Linked DNA regions of Homo sapiens: all the other regions are linked to region 3. Evidence: promoter capture Hi-C in 16 types of primary human blood cells and fetal thymus (Javierre and others, 2016). All regions are on one chromosome and are shown on one strand. Each heading gives the region's core, a stretch centred on a gene start or on the middle of the fragment in contact. The rest is flanking DNA. Distances are from core to core; before and after follow the strand shown. Region 1 overlaps FBH1 (F-box DNA helicase 1). Region 2 overlaps NET1 (neuroepithelial cell transforming 1). Region 3 holds the start of ASB13 (ankyrin repeat and SOCS box containing 13). Region 4 overlaps ANKRD16 (ankyrin repeat domain 16).

The links. The method cuts DNA at HindIII sites, captures the fragments that hold promoters and counts their contacts. A CHiCAGO score of 5 or more calls a contact.
Region 1: a fragment that was not itself captured here is called in contact with the fragment with the promoter of ASB13 in region 3 in 1 of 17 cell types (total B cells); the score reaches 6.1 in total B cells.
Region 2: a fragment that was not itself captured here is called in contact with the fragment with the promoter of ASB13 in region 3 in 5 of 17 cell types (megakaryocytes, fetal thymus, naive B cells and 2 more); the score reaches 7.4 in megakaryocytes.
Region 4: a fragment that was not itself captured here is called in contact with the fragment with the promoter of ASB13 in region 3 in 5 of 17 cell types (total CD8 T cells, megakaryocytes, endothelial precursors and 2 more); the score reaches 6.2 in total CD8 T cells.

What each region holds. Positions count from the first base shown.
Region 1 is chr10:5,896,008-5,898,707 of GRCh38, forward strand. The region is part of intron 1 of FBH1 (F-box DNA helicase 1); the gene reads left to right. Among named protein-coding and RNA genes, the nearest start is that of FBH1, 7.1 kb to the left of the region's middle. The HindIII fragment of the contact is 3,818 bases long and covers 1-2,700 here.
Region 2 is chr10:5,439,632-5,442,331 of GRCh38, forward strand. All of the region lies in intron 3 of NET1 (neuroepithelial cell transforming 1), which reads left to right. Among named protein-coding and RNA genes, the nearest start is that of NET1, 28 kb to the left of the region's middle. RefSeq lists an enhancer at 2,623-2,700. The HindIII fragment of the contact is 7,838 bases long and covers 1-2,700 here.
Region 3 is chr10:5,665,145-5,667,844 of GRCh38, forward strand. ASB13 (ankyrin repeat and SOCS box containing 13) reads right to left here and starts at 1,451. Exons shown (of 6, transcript NM_024701.4): 1 at 1,365-1,451. The coding sequence starts at 1,407. RefSeq lists silencers at 1,035-1,084, 1,385-1,454. The HindIII fragment of the contact is 2,178 bases long and covers 376-2,553 here.
Region 4 is chr10:5,876,896-5,879,595 of GRCh38, forward strand. It overlaps ANKRD16 (ankyrin repeat domain 16), which reads right to left. Exons shown (of 8, transcript NM_019046.3): 7 at 1,202-1,392. The coding sequence ends at 1,235. Among named protein-coding and RNA genes, the nearest start is that of ANKRD16, 12 kb to the right of the region's middle. The HindIII fragment of the contact is 1,358 bases long and covers 746-2,103 here.

The DNA.
Region 1 (2,700 bases), core at 193-2,692, 230 kb after region 3:
AAAGAAGATTAAAAAAAGAAGCCAGGCAAATGAAAGCATAGGGGAGGAGTGGCAGACACGCAGTTCTCACTCTGCGACTGCAGGAGTGTCTCTTGTTTCCCCCTTGTGCACTTTGAGGAATGAGGGGATAGACGTGGTCCCTTCCTTTTAGTTCCCCGTAGCAGAGTTCTTGTAAGGACTCGTTCAGGGGAGACTGATAAGGGTCTCATCTCCATCGGGGGACCTCACCAGGGCATGGAGTGGGTCAGAGTGGGCTGGGAGGGGATAGACTGTCATCAAGGTGAAGAGATTTGAGGGGTGGTGGAGGGCTAAACTCCAGATCTGACCACTTCAAAGTCAGCAAAGGCCAGGAATTGCTGGGGTAGGGCTAAAAGCTGAGGGTTAGCAAAGAGAGGTGGGTCCTGGAATGGGGACCCCTGGGGTGGAGGACAGAGAAGTCACACTGTTAGAAAGCCGTCACAGAAAAGGCAGTGTGGGAATGAGCTTACTTAAGCCTAGGGAATATTCATTTGACAAAATGGTTTGTGTACATTCTGGTTTTTCTACCCTGACACCTGAGGGCTCTAACACATTTCTGTTGGTTATTGTGGAAGAGAGTGTCCAAGGGTGGGAGCACAGATGCCGAATTTGGTGTGTAGGAGACCAATTTCAACAACTCTGGGGGCCTTGTAGAGTTTGCAAAGCCCCGTAAGTGATTCTAATCTCTCTGCACCCACAAGAACCCCTAGTTTAGACACAGCTTCCCTTTATCTGTGGTCATTCACCACAGATAATTTCATTCCCTAAAGAATCACAAGCAGCTTCTAACAGTAAATGCCCTTTACAGGAGGTGTAAAGTGCACTTGCTGTGTAGAGAGGGAGGCATACCATGAGCTTTGCGTGACTCAGGGAAGGAGGATTTTTATGGAAGAAGTAGCATTTGAGCATTCTTATTTTGATAAAGTTATTTTTGAACTGCTTTTTAAAAAGGTATATTAATAAGAATAGAAGGGTGATTAGAATTCTAGTGTAGTGTTTTGGTTTTATTTTTAACCATTTAGCAAGAACATTAATGCTATTAAAACTGATGTGCCTTAGGAGACCCTCAGATTGGTGTGGTAGTCACATATTTCTTCTGACGTTTCTGTTGCTAGGTGTTGACATAGATTTAGAGATAGGTGTTGTCACCCTCAATGTGGGTGGCTTGAGTACTTACATATATATTGTCTCATTCTCTGAATTCAGCATGGCAGGTTATTATAATCCTCGTTTTCATAAGCAAGGCTTTGGCGATGAATATACCTGCCAAGTGTGGGTCTTCTCCTGCACCCCACAGCCTCGGAGGGGCTTTAAGGGAACATTAAGTGTAAAGCGTGTAATTGCAGAGGAGGTGGACACAGGGCTCCTGCGGAGGAGGTGGACACAGGGCTCCTGGCTCCCAGTTCAGAGCATCACAGCACCTCTCTCTGAGACCAGAGATACAGGTTAGTTTTCCTGACCTCCAGCTGACGTTAGAAAAGTTATTTTTGATACATATATCCAATAAGTCCAAGGGGTGGGGAATCCAATAAAAGTGTTAATAAAAATCCAATAAAAGTACCAGCTCTCCCGCCAGCCAAACTATGGCTGGTAACGCCATTCCAGTTATATAGGTTACTTATCTTAGTGCACAGAGGCCAGATCACCAGTCTAAGCGCCCCTCCCCCGGTACCGAACCTCAGTTCCTCCCAGGGTGGCTTCATGCCAGAACATATTGGAATATACCGGGACTCCCTTGAAGCAGAACACAGTGTTCCAACACTCCCATTAGCACTTTCTGTTACTCCTGTGTCTTTGTTAGATTTCTGCAAACACTTAATCTTCGCAACAAGCATTTTGGATTCAGACGTATTTTCTGAGATAAATACATAAATAAAAATCTATCCTGTTCATATTACCTTTTCCAAAGCAGTTCCCTTTGGGACTGAACATTTTTGATGTTCTGTCATCAGTCTGTTGTGAGCTACCAGGGAGGTCTCCCTGTGGGAGCAGTTCTGTAGTATATTCCTAGGGATTAGAGTGTAGGCTCCTGGACCTCCCAGCCGAATTCTTCTCCCTGCTCCTCATCCTTCTTGACCCACTCAGTATTCACAGAACGTGTGCTGCCTCAGTCCATTTGGGCTGGTATAACAAAATACCATAACTGGGCCGCTTATAAGCAGAAGTCTCTCTCACTCACAGATCTGGAGGCTGGAAGTCTAAGATCGAGGTGCCAGCAGATTTGGTGTCTGGTGAGGGCCGCTTCCTGGTTCATAGACGGCACCTTCTCTTTGTGTCCTCACATGGTGGCAGGAGTAAGGGAGCTCTCTGAGACCTCTCTTATAAGGGCACTAATCCCATTTGTGGGGACTCCACCCTTGTGACCTTATCACTTCCTAGAACCGCATTTTTTTTTTTTCTTTTGAGACACAATCTCTCTCCATTGTCCAGGCTGGAGTGCAGTGGCACAATCTTGGCTCACAGCAACCTCCACCTCCCGGGTTCAAGTGATTCTTGGGCCTCAGCCTCCTGAGTAGCTGGGGTTACAGGTGCCCGCCACCACACCTGGCTAATTTTTATATTTTTAGTAGAGATGGGGTTTCACTATGTTGCCAGGCTGGTCTTGAACTCTAGACCTCAAGTGATCCACCCACCTTGGCCTCTCAAAGTGCTGGGATTACAGGCATGAGCCACTGTGCCTGG
Region 2 (2,700 bases), core at 95-2,594, 230 kb before region 3:
GTCTGCCCCACACCTGGGGCTGCTTTTCAAACCGGAGTCATTTTCTGCTGTGGAAAGCAGAGCTTTGCTCTGGAACCCTAAGGCTCTGCATTGCAGTTCTCTTCCTGGCCTTGCCAGAGCATCACACAGCATCTTTGTCTACCATAAATACCCAACCTTGATGTGATATACCAGGTCACATGGCCTGAACAGCAGGGCAGTTTGCACCACAGCCTGGAGGACCTGCTACAGAGACCTCTGTTGCTCTGGGACCTACTCAAAACTATCACAGCAACATTCCCAAATATAGCAGATACTGCCTCCAAAAGATGAAGAGTCCTGCTAGCACTGTGCCTAGAAGATGCAAGGTGCAACACCTGTCCTTTCCTGTAGCGGGGAGATCCCAGAAAGCCTCAGGCCGTTGGATCTATTAAAACTTTTCCAACATGGCAACCTCTGAATTTTTGTGGCATGCGTTTGATTTACTGGGATATCCAAAATACTTTCCACTTCCTATTCACCAGGTCTTTTTGGTATAATGTTATTAATACAGTGGGCCTGTATGATGTTCTGTGAAATATCCGGTCCTTGCCGACTTTGTGACAGAAAACAAAGTGAACAGCTTCAGGACGTGAGCAATCACAGGCTGCTGTCCTTCCCACCTAAAAGCAAACTACTTTTGACCCTTCTTACTAATGAGGATTGAAAAGAACACATAGGCCAGATCAGTAACCACAACCATAACCATGTAACAAATGCTAGATGATTTGTTGGTCTGCTCCAGTAGACTCTACATCTTGCACAACAGTTGAGGTTGGAACTACCACTTAAGTTTACAGTGGTCCACTGTCATTTACCACAGTCCACCTCATTATTGTAAGAGGCACTCAGATAAACAGAATGAGGATCTAGTGGAGACTATCACTTGTGCAGTCCGTAACTCTGATGGCTGATCTCTGCATTTTCTCCTGGTGTGCAATACTGCTTCTGACTTACCATCTTGGCCCAGGTGTAAGGGGTGAAATTTCAGGGACTCCCACTTAGCTATTCCCACCATGGTGCTGAGAACATTATGAAAGTTCTGTCAGCTGCTTTTTCAAATCTTTTAAAGCAATTAGCCAAAGCCAGTAAACACTACAATCATTACAATTACCACTGCCCCTCTCTTGTTCATTTGCCACCACTACTATGTAAGGCATTGCCTCACTACTCTGTGTCTCATCCCTATTCATACCTGTAGTCCTTATCACCATTTTACTAGTGAGTGAGTCTGTTTCAGAGTCCCATCCTGTGTTTCTGATCTCTAGGACCAATCTCAGTGTCCATATTTTAGCCTGGGTTCTCCCTCCAGAAATCAGAGCCTAAAACGAGGACTCATTGACAGGTGTCTTTCTTGAGGTATGATCCCAGGGAACAAGCTGGAGAAGTGAAAGAGAGGAGGCCCGTGCAGTGTCTAATTAAGCTGTCACTACTGTGGGCAGTGGGGTAGATCTCTCTGGAACCCTCTGAAGAGCTGTGTAAAACACACCACAGACTTCTCCTCTCAACGGACTGAAGAGGGGAGCTTTTATCCTGCAGCTTCTGTGCTCCGTTAGTCAACAAGTGGCCTTTCGGGTGTCCATCCCACACACCCGTGGCTACACATGTGCATGTGCCACACAGCAGCATCCAAGAAGCCCAGGGTGGAAGGCAAGAGATACACAGTGCAGCTGAGGCAAGGGACTGTGGGGTCACTCCTGTGGGGAGCCAGTTGCTATGGCAATGTCAAATTGGGCTGAGAAAACAGGAGGCTGGGCACAAGACACAATATCCTTTTGTCTTTAGTTTGGGGCCTTAAGCTGAAGTTCAGGGAAAAATGGGAGGAATCCCATTCAACAGCTTGTTACAGAAGACTAAGTGGTCTTACGTTATACTGGAAGTTATTCGTTACCTGAGATAAAAAGTCACCACTAACAGTGCTGATACCCCATTTGATTGGCTATTTGTGTTGTCATCGCACAAAAGAACCATTGTTTTGACAATACCAAACTTATTAGCCTATGAGACTATTTTATTTAAAGTGTGTCTAATAATACTTAATTGGTCTAAACTGATGTTTTTTCCCCAAACCAAATTCTTAGTACTAAACTTGGAGATTCAAATCACATATAACTTCATTACTAATTTCTTTCGTACTTATCCAGTTCAAATGTAACTCTTTTTGTTTTTAAGTTATTACTAGATATTTTGGAACTATGGTTTTTCAAAAGTTCCACTTTTCAATTAATACTTCCTTTTTAGTAAGATTTAAAATTTTATTTTTAACTAACCTATTTTTAGTGAGATACAGAGTATATGCTTGTAATCTTGAATTCTAGAGTTTTAAAATGGAATGTAGTTTTCTTATATTTAGAAAAAGTTCTTAAAATATTTCTTGTGAATTGTGGAATCTTTTTCATATACTTGTATCATTTTAAAATATATGTTTAATTTAGTAATATAAGACATGAAGGCTGTACAAAGACTGAAAATACAGATTTTACTGGTCATATTTTTCCACAAATTAAGAGATTGTTTATGTAGTCATCTATGTAATGTCGTTACAAATATAATTACAAAGTTGAAAAACAGGTTGACAATTGCATTTCACAATATCTCGTGTAGAGGGCAGCAGAGAGCTTAGATTTTGTTTTCTCTTTGCCTGTAGTATGGCTTCCCTAGTCTAATTTCCAATTGCTTGTT
Region 3 (2,700 bases), core at 201-2,700:
CTGCGCAACAGCCCAAAACCTAAATGTTTTGGTCGCGGTACACCACACATCCAGAATTTGAGGTCAGAATGTTAAAATTGTCTAAAGCTCCTACGGTTCGCCTCTGGTGCTGCTGGAATGGCAGTATTGTTTTGGATCCAACACATTCAGCTTATTCATTACACTGGGAATAAAAAACATCAGCAGAACTTATTTGGGGAGAAATATATTAAATAAAAAATGACAATGTCAAAAATACCAGTGAACCTCAAAAGTTGCGGATTCATTAGTTTAAAATGTGCCTTTCTTCTACAGATGCATTCCATAACAAACGATGCAGAAGACATGCTCAGAAGTGATGCCATGAACAGAAATATTAAAATATGTGTTTAAATAAGCTTCTGCCGTTAGCTATTCACTGCTTACTCAATTAAGCTAATCAAATGCAGATCACAGTGTCAGGGTCAAAGTCTTGTGCTTGCCTGGACTGGAATGCCAAGTAAAAACACATGCTTATTAGATACCTTTGATCATGTCAAAGGTGGTTATTTTGCAAAGTCAATTAAAATATCTTTGCCTTGCTATGACTGCAACTTCCTCTTCAGCTAAATTTACCCTTAAGACTTTTCCCTCTTAGGTGCACTACTGTTTTTACCAGGATGAATATGCTTTAGATTTTTTTTTTCTTTTTAGGCTTTCATAGTGCTTCCGTCGCTCATTTCAGTGACCATATTATTGCTTCATAGGCAGCAAAAAAATTTGCTTCCCCAAAGAGTGTCCTTCCCTCAAATCCATTTCATTCTTGGGCTGCTCGGATTTTGGTAAAGTAGGCTGCGAACTGGGATGGCACTTTTCGGAGTGTGCCGGGGTGCCCCAAGGCCACCTTCACTGGAGCGGAGTCGGGGTCACGCGGACGCCTCTGCAGGATGCTCGGACACTGCGCCACGGCCTCACCCGCGCCAGTGGAGGGGGGTTTAGCTCTTACCGTGGGCTCGCGCCTGGCTTCCCCGAGAGGGAGCACCGTGGGCGTTTCCCAGGCTCTCCCCCGCCACTGGGCAACGGCCCCGCACGCGTCCCGCACCTTCCCCAGGGCGCGCGGCGCTCGGTGGGTTTGCGGTTGCGAAACCCCACACCTGGCGAGCCGCACGGACTGCAACCCCGCAGTGCGCTGGCCTGGGACAAGGCACCAGACATGAGAGCCCGTCTGGGATGCGCGGCACCACTGGGACCCTGCTTTCACCGCGGCCCACCCCGCCAAACGCCCCCGCCCACGGAGCCAGCGCGGGGCGCGCCACCACCTCCCCGGCGCAGGCCATCGGATACGCGGCCGGCCTCAGGAGCCGGCGCCGCTGCCTCGCTCTGACCTCCGCGGCGCCCGCACGTACCCACGTCGCCCAGGAAGCAGCCGTCCGCCGCCCGGGGCTCCATGCGGCTCACCGGCGGCCGCGCGGCGACTCTGGGCGCCGGGACCTGGGCCGGGCCGCGCGGGGCCGCTGGGCGGGGCCAGTCTGCGCTGGGCCGCGCGTCGTCCCGAGGCGACCGAGCCGGGAGTTGTAGTTCCCGCCGCCTTGGCGAGGTTCCCGGAGGCGCTGTCCCTGGGTCCGGACTCCGCTGTCGCTGCCCACCCCGCTTCGCCCGTCGCGCCGAGGAGTGTGTGTGCTTGCATCTGCAAACCGTGCGTCCCGTGCACAGAATACGTCCGGTGCAAAACGTGTCCTGTGCACTTGTCCTATGTAAACGTGTGTGTCCGTGTGCAAAACATGCATCCTGTGCATATGTCCTGTGCAAAACATGCGTCCGTGTGTAAACTTGTATCCATTGTAAGCATGCTTCCCTGTGTCCCTTTGCAAAGCATGGATATGTGTTTCCATGTGCAAAACATGTGTCCTGTACAAAACATGCATCCTGTGCATGTGTCCTGTGCAAGCGTGTCCTGTGCAAGCGTGTGCAAAACATGTGTCCATGTATAAACATGTATGTATTGCAAATGTGTCCTGTGCAAGCATGTGTCTGTGTCCACGTGCAAAGCATGCGTCTAGCTTCCAGAGTTCACTTGCATTGTACAGATGCTGATGATGCTCCAGAGTACTCGAGTTCCCCCATGCTTTAACTTTCAAGAACCGCTTCCCACCAGAGCCGGTGTTCATAATCACTGTTTCTTTGATCTTTCAAGATAATAATTTCAAATCGTTCAAATCAATTTCTTAATGCCTTTTCTTTACGGGTGGTTTTTAATCCAATGTTCCCCTAAGCTGCTTAGCAAATGGAAGCTGGGGCACAACCTGGCAGAAATGAAAAACCTGTTTCCTGTTTCCGGAATAATACCCAGTCAACAATTGAGTAAGGGATTTTTATTTTATTTATTTATTTTTGCAAAGCAGCTTCCCAAGTTTAGAAGGTTTAACCTTGTGAAAGTTCACTGTAGCCCTGTCAGGAGATTCGTCACTCACCTGACCTGTACTGAACCTCCATGCAGAAGTTAGTTTGGGCTCAAAAGTAAAAGTATCAGGAATCATCCAGTCTGGAAATAGGTGAGGCCTGGCAGAGCAGCCAGTTTGATCTCTCACACTACAAAGCTTCTGGGATGACCCAGGTCTCCATCTGCAGTCCAGACCGAAGGCACTATACCTAGGGGACATTGAACCATATCTTTTGGAAAGCAGAGCCCCTGGAAATGTGGAGCCCCAGGCCTGGGAATGGAATTTCAAGCCATTTGCACTG
Region 4 (2,700 bases), core at 175-2,674, 210 kb after region 3:
GTAGAAAAAGAATCTAAATGCCTGAGGACTCATCCTATCTTTACTCCGTTTAAGAGGCTATAATATTTTTTAAAGCTAAATGTCAAGTGTTTCATTCCTTAAGTCACAGGCTTCCGTGGGTGGATGGGACAGGCCAGAAAAATGGGTTTTAAAGACAAAACCCCATTCTTAAACTCAGGTTAACAGAAGTTTTGTAAATATCTTAGTTACATTTTCTTTTTTTCTTTTTTTTTTTGAGACGGAGTCATGCTCTGTCGCCCAGGCTGGAGTGCAGTGGCGCTATCTCAGCTCACTGCAACCTCTGCCTCCTGGGTTCAGGCAATTCTCGGGCCTCAGCCTCACTGGTAGCTGGGACTACAGGCATGCACCAGCACAGCTGGCTAATTTTTGTATTTTTAGTAGAGATGAGGTTTTATCATGTTGGCCAGGCTGGTCTTGAACTCCCGGCCTCAAGTGATCTGTCTGCCTCAGCCTCCCAAAGTGCTGGGATTACAGGCACGGGCCACCATGCCCGGTCCTTAGTTACATTTTTTACATGTATTTATTACTTGAAGGGGGTCAATACTGAATTTATCTATTAAAACAAACAAAAACCCTCAAGATTAAAACTTGATAGCTTAACTAGCAGTGCTTAGAATATATAAAAGTTTTTATTAATTTCTTGTAAATGCCTGTGTAAACAGATTATAAGTATGTCCTTCTTGGCTACGAAACCAAAAGTGAACCATTGTAATGGCCAAGTAAAAGCTTATGAAGGAAGAAATTAAATGGGCCAACTGCATTTTATAGCTCAAGCTAATAGCAACGTATGTGATATTTTTGTTATTATTATCACAGCCTTACCATGCAGCAGTTACTATAAGATATTTCATATGTTTGTGAAAGTGTGTATGCTATATTATATTCATGCATGGTACATGCTTCTCTAAGGATCCCACAGCCTGATCGCGCAAACGTTATCTATTCTACTTTAAGAGTACAAAGAGTGAAATATGGACTACGGGAAGATTATGACTGTGCTTGGGACTCCATAATGTGCCTGTCATGGAGCTGGGAACTCAGCCCCCTGATCACTGGGAACTCCTCAGCAGGAGTGGAACATGCAGGATGAGGGAAGGGAGGAAGTGGAGGAGATGGAAAACTGGCTTCCAACTGGTTTCGCTGAATCTGTGACTGACTTAAGAAGCAGGATATGAATTACCATGCACTTTATTGCCTCCTCTTGGAAACATCCTTATGTCATTGCGCTATGGCCAGAGCCCTGAAGGACATCTGCTCTCCTTGGGAGCTGCTGAGCCAGGGTGCCCGTGATGTCTTCAGAATCCTTCAGTCCCGACTGCAGGAGAAACTTGGCACAGGCCAAGTGCTGACCTGCACAGGCCAGATGCAGGGCTGAGGGGTGACAAAAATCACATGGACTTAAAACACAATCCCTGGAGCAATACTGACCTCATGAGTTGATAGTGCCCAATAAAAATATCAATTCTTTCAATATCTTCCGTAATCCATCTTCACAACTTCACCTATACTAGATCAAAATATTTTTGTTTCTAACCTGATTGGGTTGAAAATAGTTTTAAAGATAACAAAACCAGTTAGAGAGGATTTAAGAAATTTATCTAGGCTGGGCGTGGTGGCTCATGCCTGTAATCCCAGCACTCTGGGAGGCTGAGGTAGGCAGATCATGAGGTCAAGAGTGTGAGACTAGCCTGACCAACATGGTGAAACCCCATCTCTAATAAAAATTAAAAAATTAGCCGGGCGTGGTGGTGCATGCCTGTAATCCCAGCTACTCGGGAGGCTGAGGCAGGAAAATCGCTTGAACCCAGGAGGTGGCGGTTGCAGTGAGCACTGCACGCCAGCCTGGGTGACAGAGCAAGACTCTGCCTCAAAAAAAAAAAAAAAAGAAAAAGAAACTTATCTAAAGCAAGAAGCAACAGAGCAAGTTAACAAGATATAGGATACATCCTCTTCATACGCCTGAATGCTCTGGAAACACACTTTAAATGGTACAAAAAACTTTCTAAAAGGCTTATTGAATTTGCTTTGTAAGTAAAAATATCACCACAAATAATCACGTAGCCAAAAAAACACTTTTGAACAAGCTTCCCACTCTGGGTGCAGAAATCAGCACTGAGGTTCCTGGTGTGCTGAGTTCAGGGGCACTGGTGATTCTGCTGCTTTCCCTCCAGCAGAGAAGCTGTGTCCCTTCCTGGGCAGAGCAGCTGCCCTTTCCAGCCCTAGAGTGAGTAGTTAGGTACCTGCGAGTCTTTGAAGCATCAGAAAGATCCCACTAGGCCAGGCGCGGTGGCTCATGCCTGTAATCCCTGCACTTTGGGAGGGCGAGGTGGGCAGATCACTTGAGGTCAGGAGTTTGAGACCAGTCTGGCCAACATGGTGAAACCCTGTCTCTACTAAAAATACAAAAATTAGCTGGGCATGGTGGTGGGCACCCGTAGTCCCAGCTACTTGGGAGGCAGAAGAATCGCTTGAACCCAGGAGGTGGAGGTTGCAGTGAGCCAAGATCGTGCCACTGCCCTCCAGACTGGGTGACAGAGCGAGACTTTGTCTCCAAAAAAAAAAAAAAATTCCACTAAACCCTTGCAAGATGGCCTTTGGCTCACAGAATGTTAGAGGGTTTATTTTAAAGTCCAAGTCTAAAGAATTTGCTCTCAGCAGATGTTTCTGAATATTCTAAAT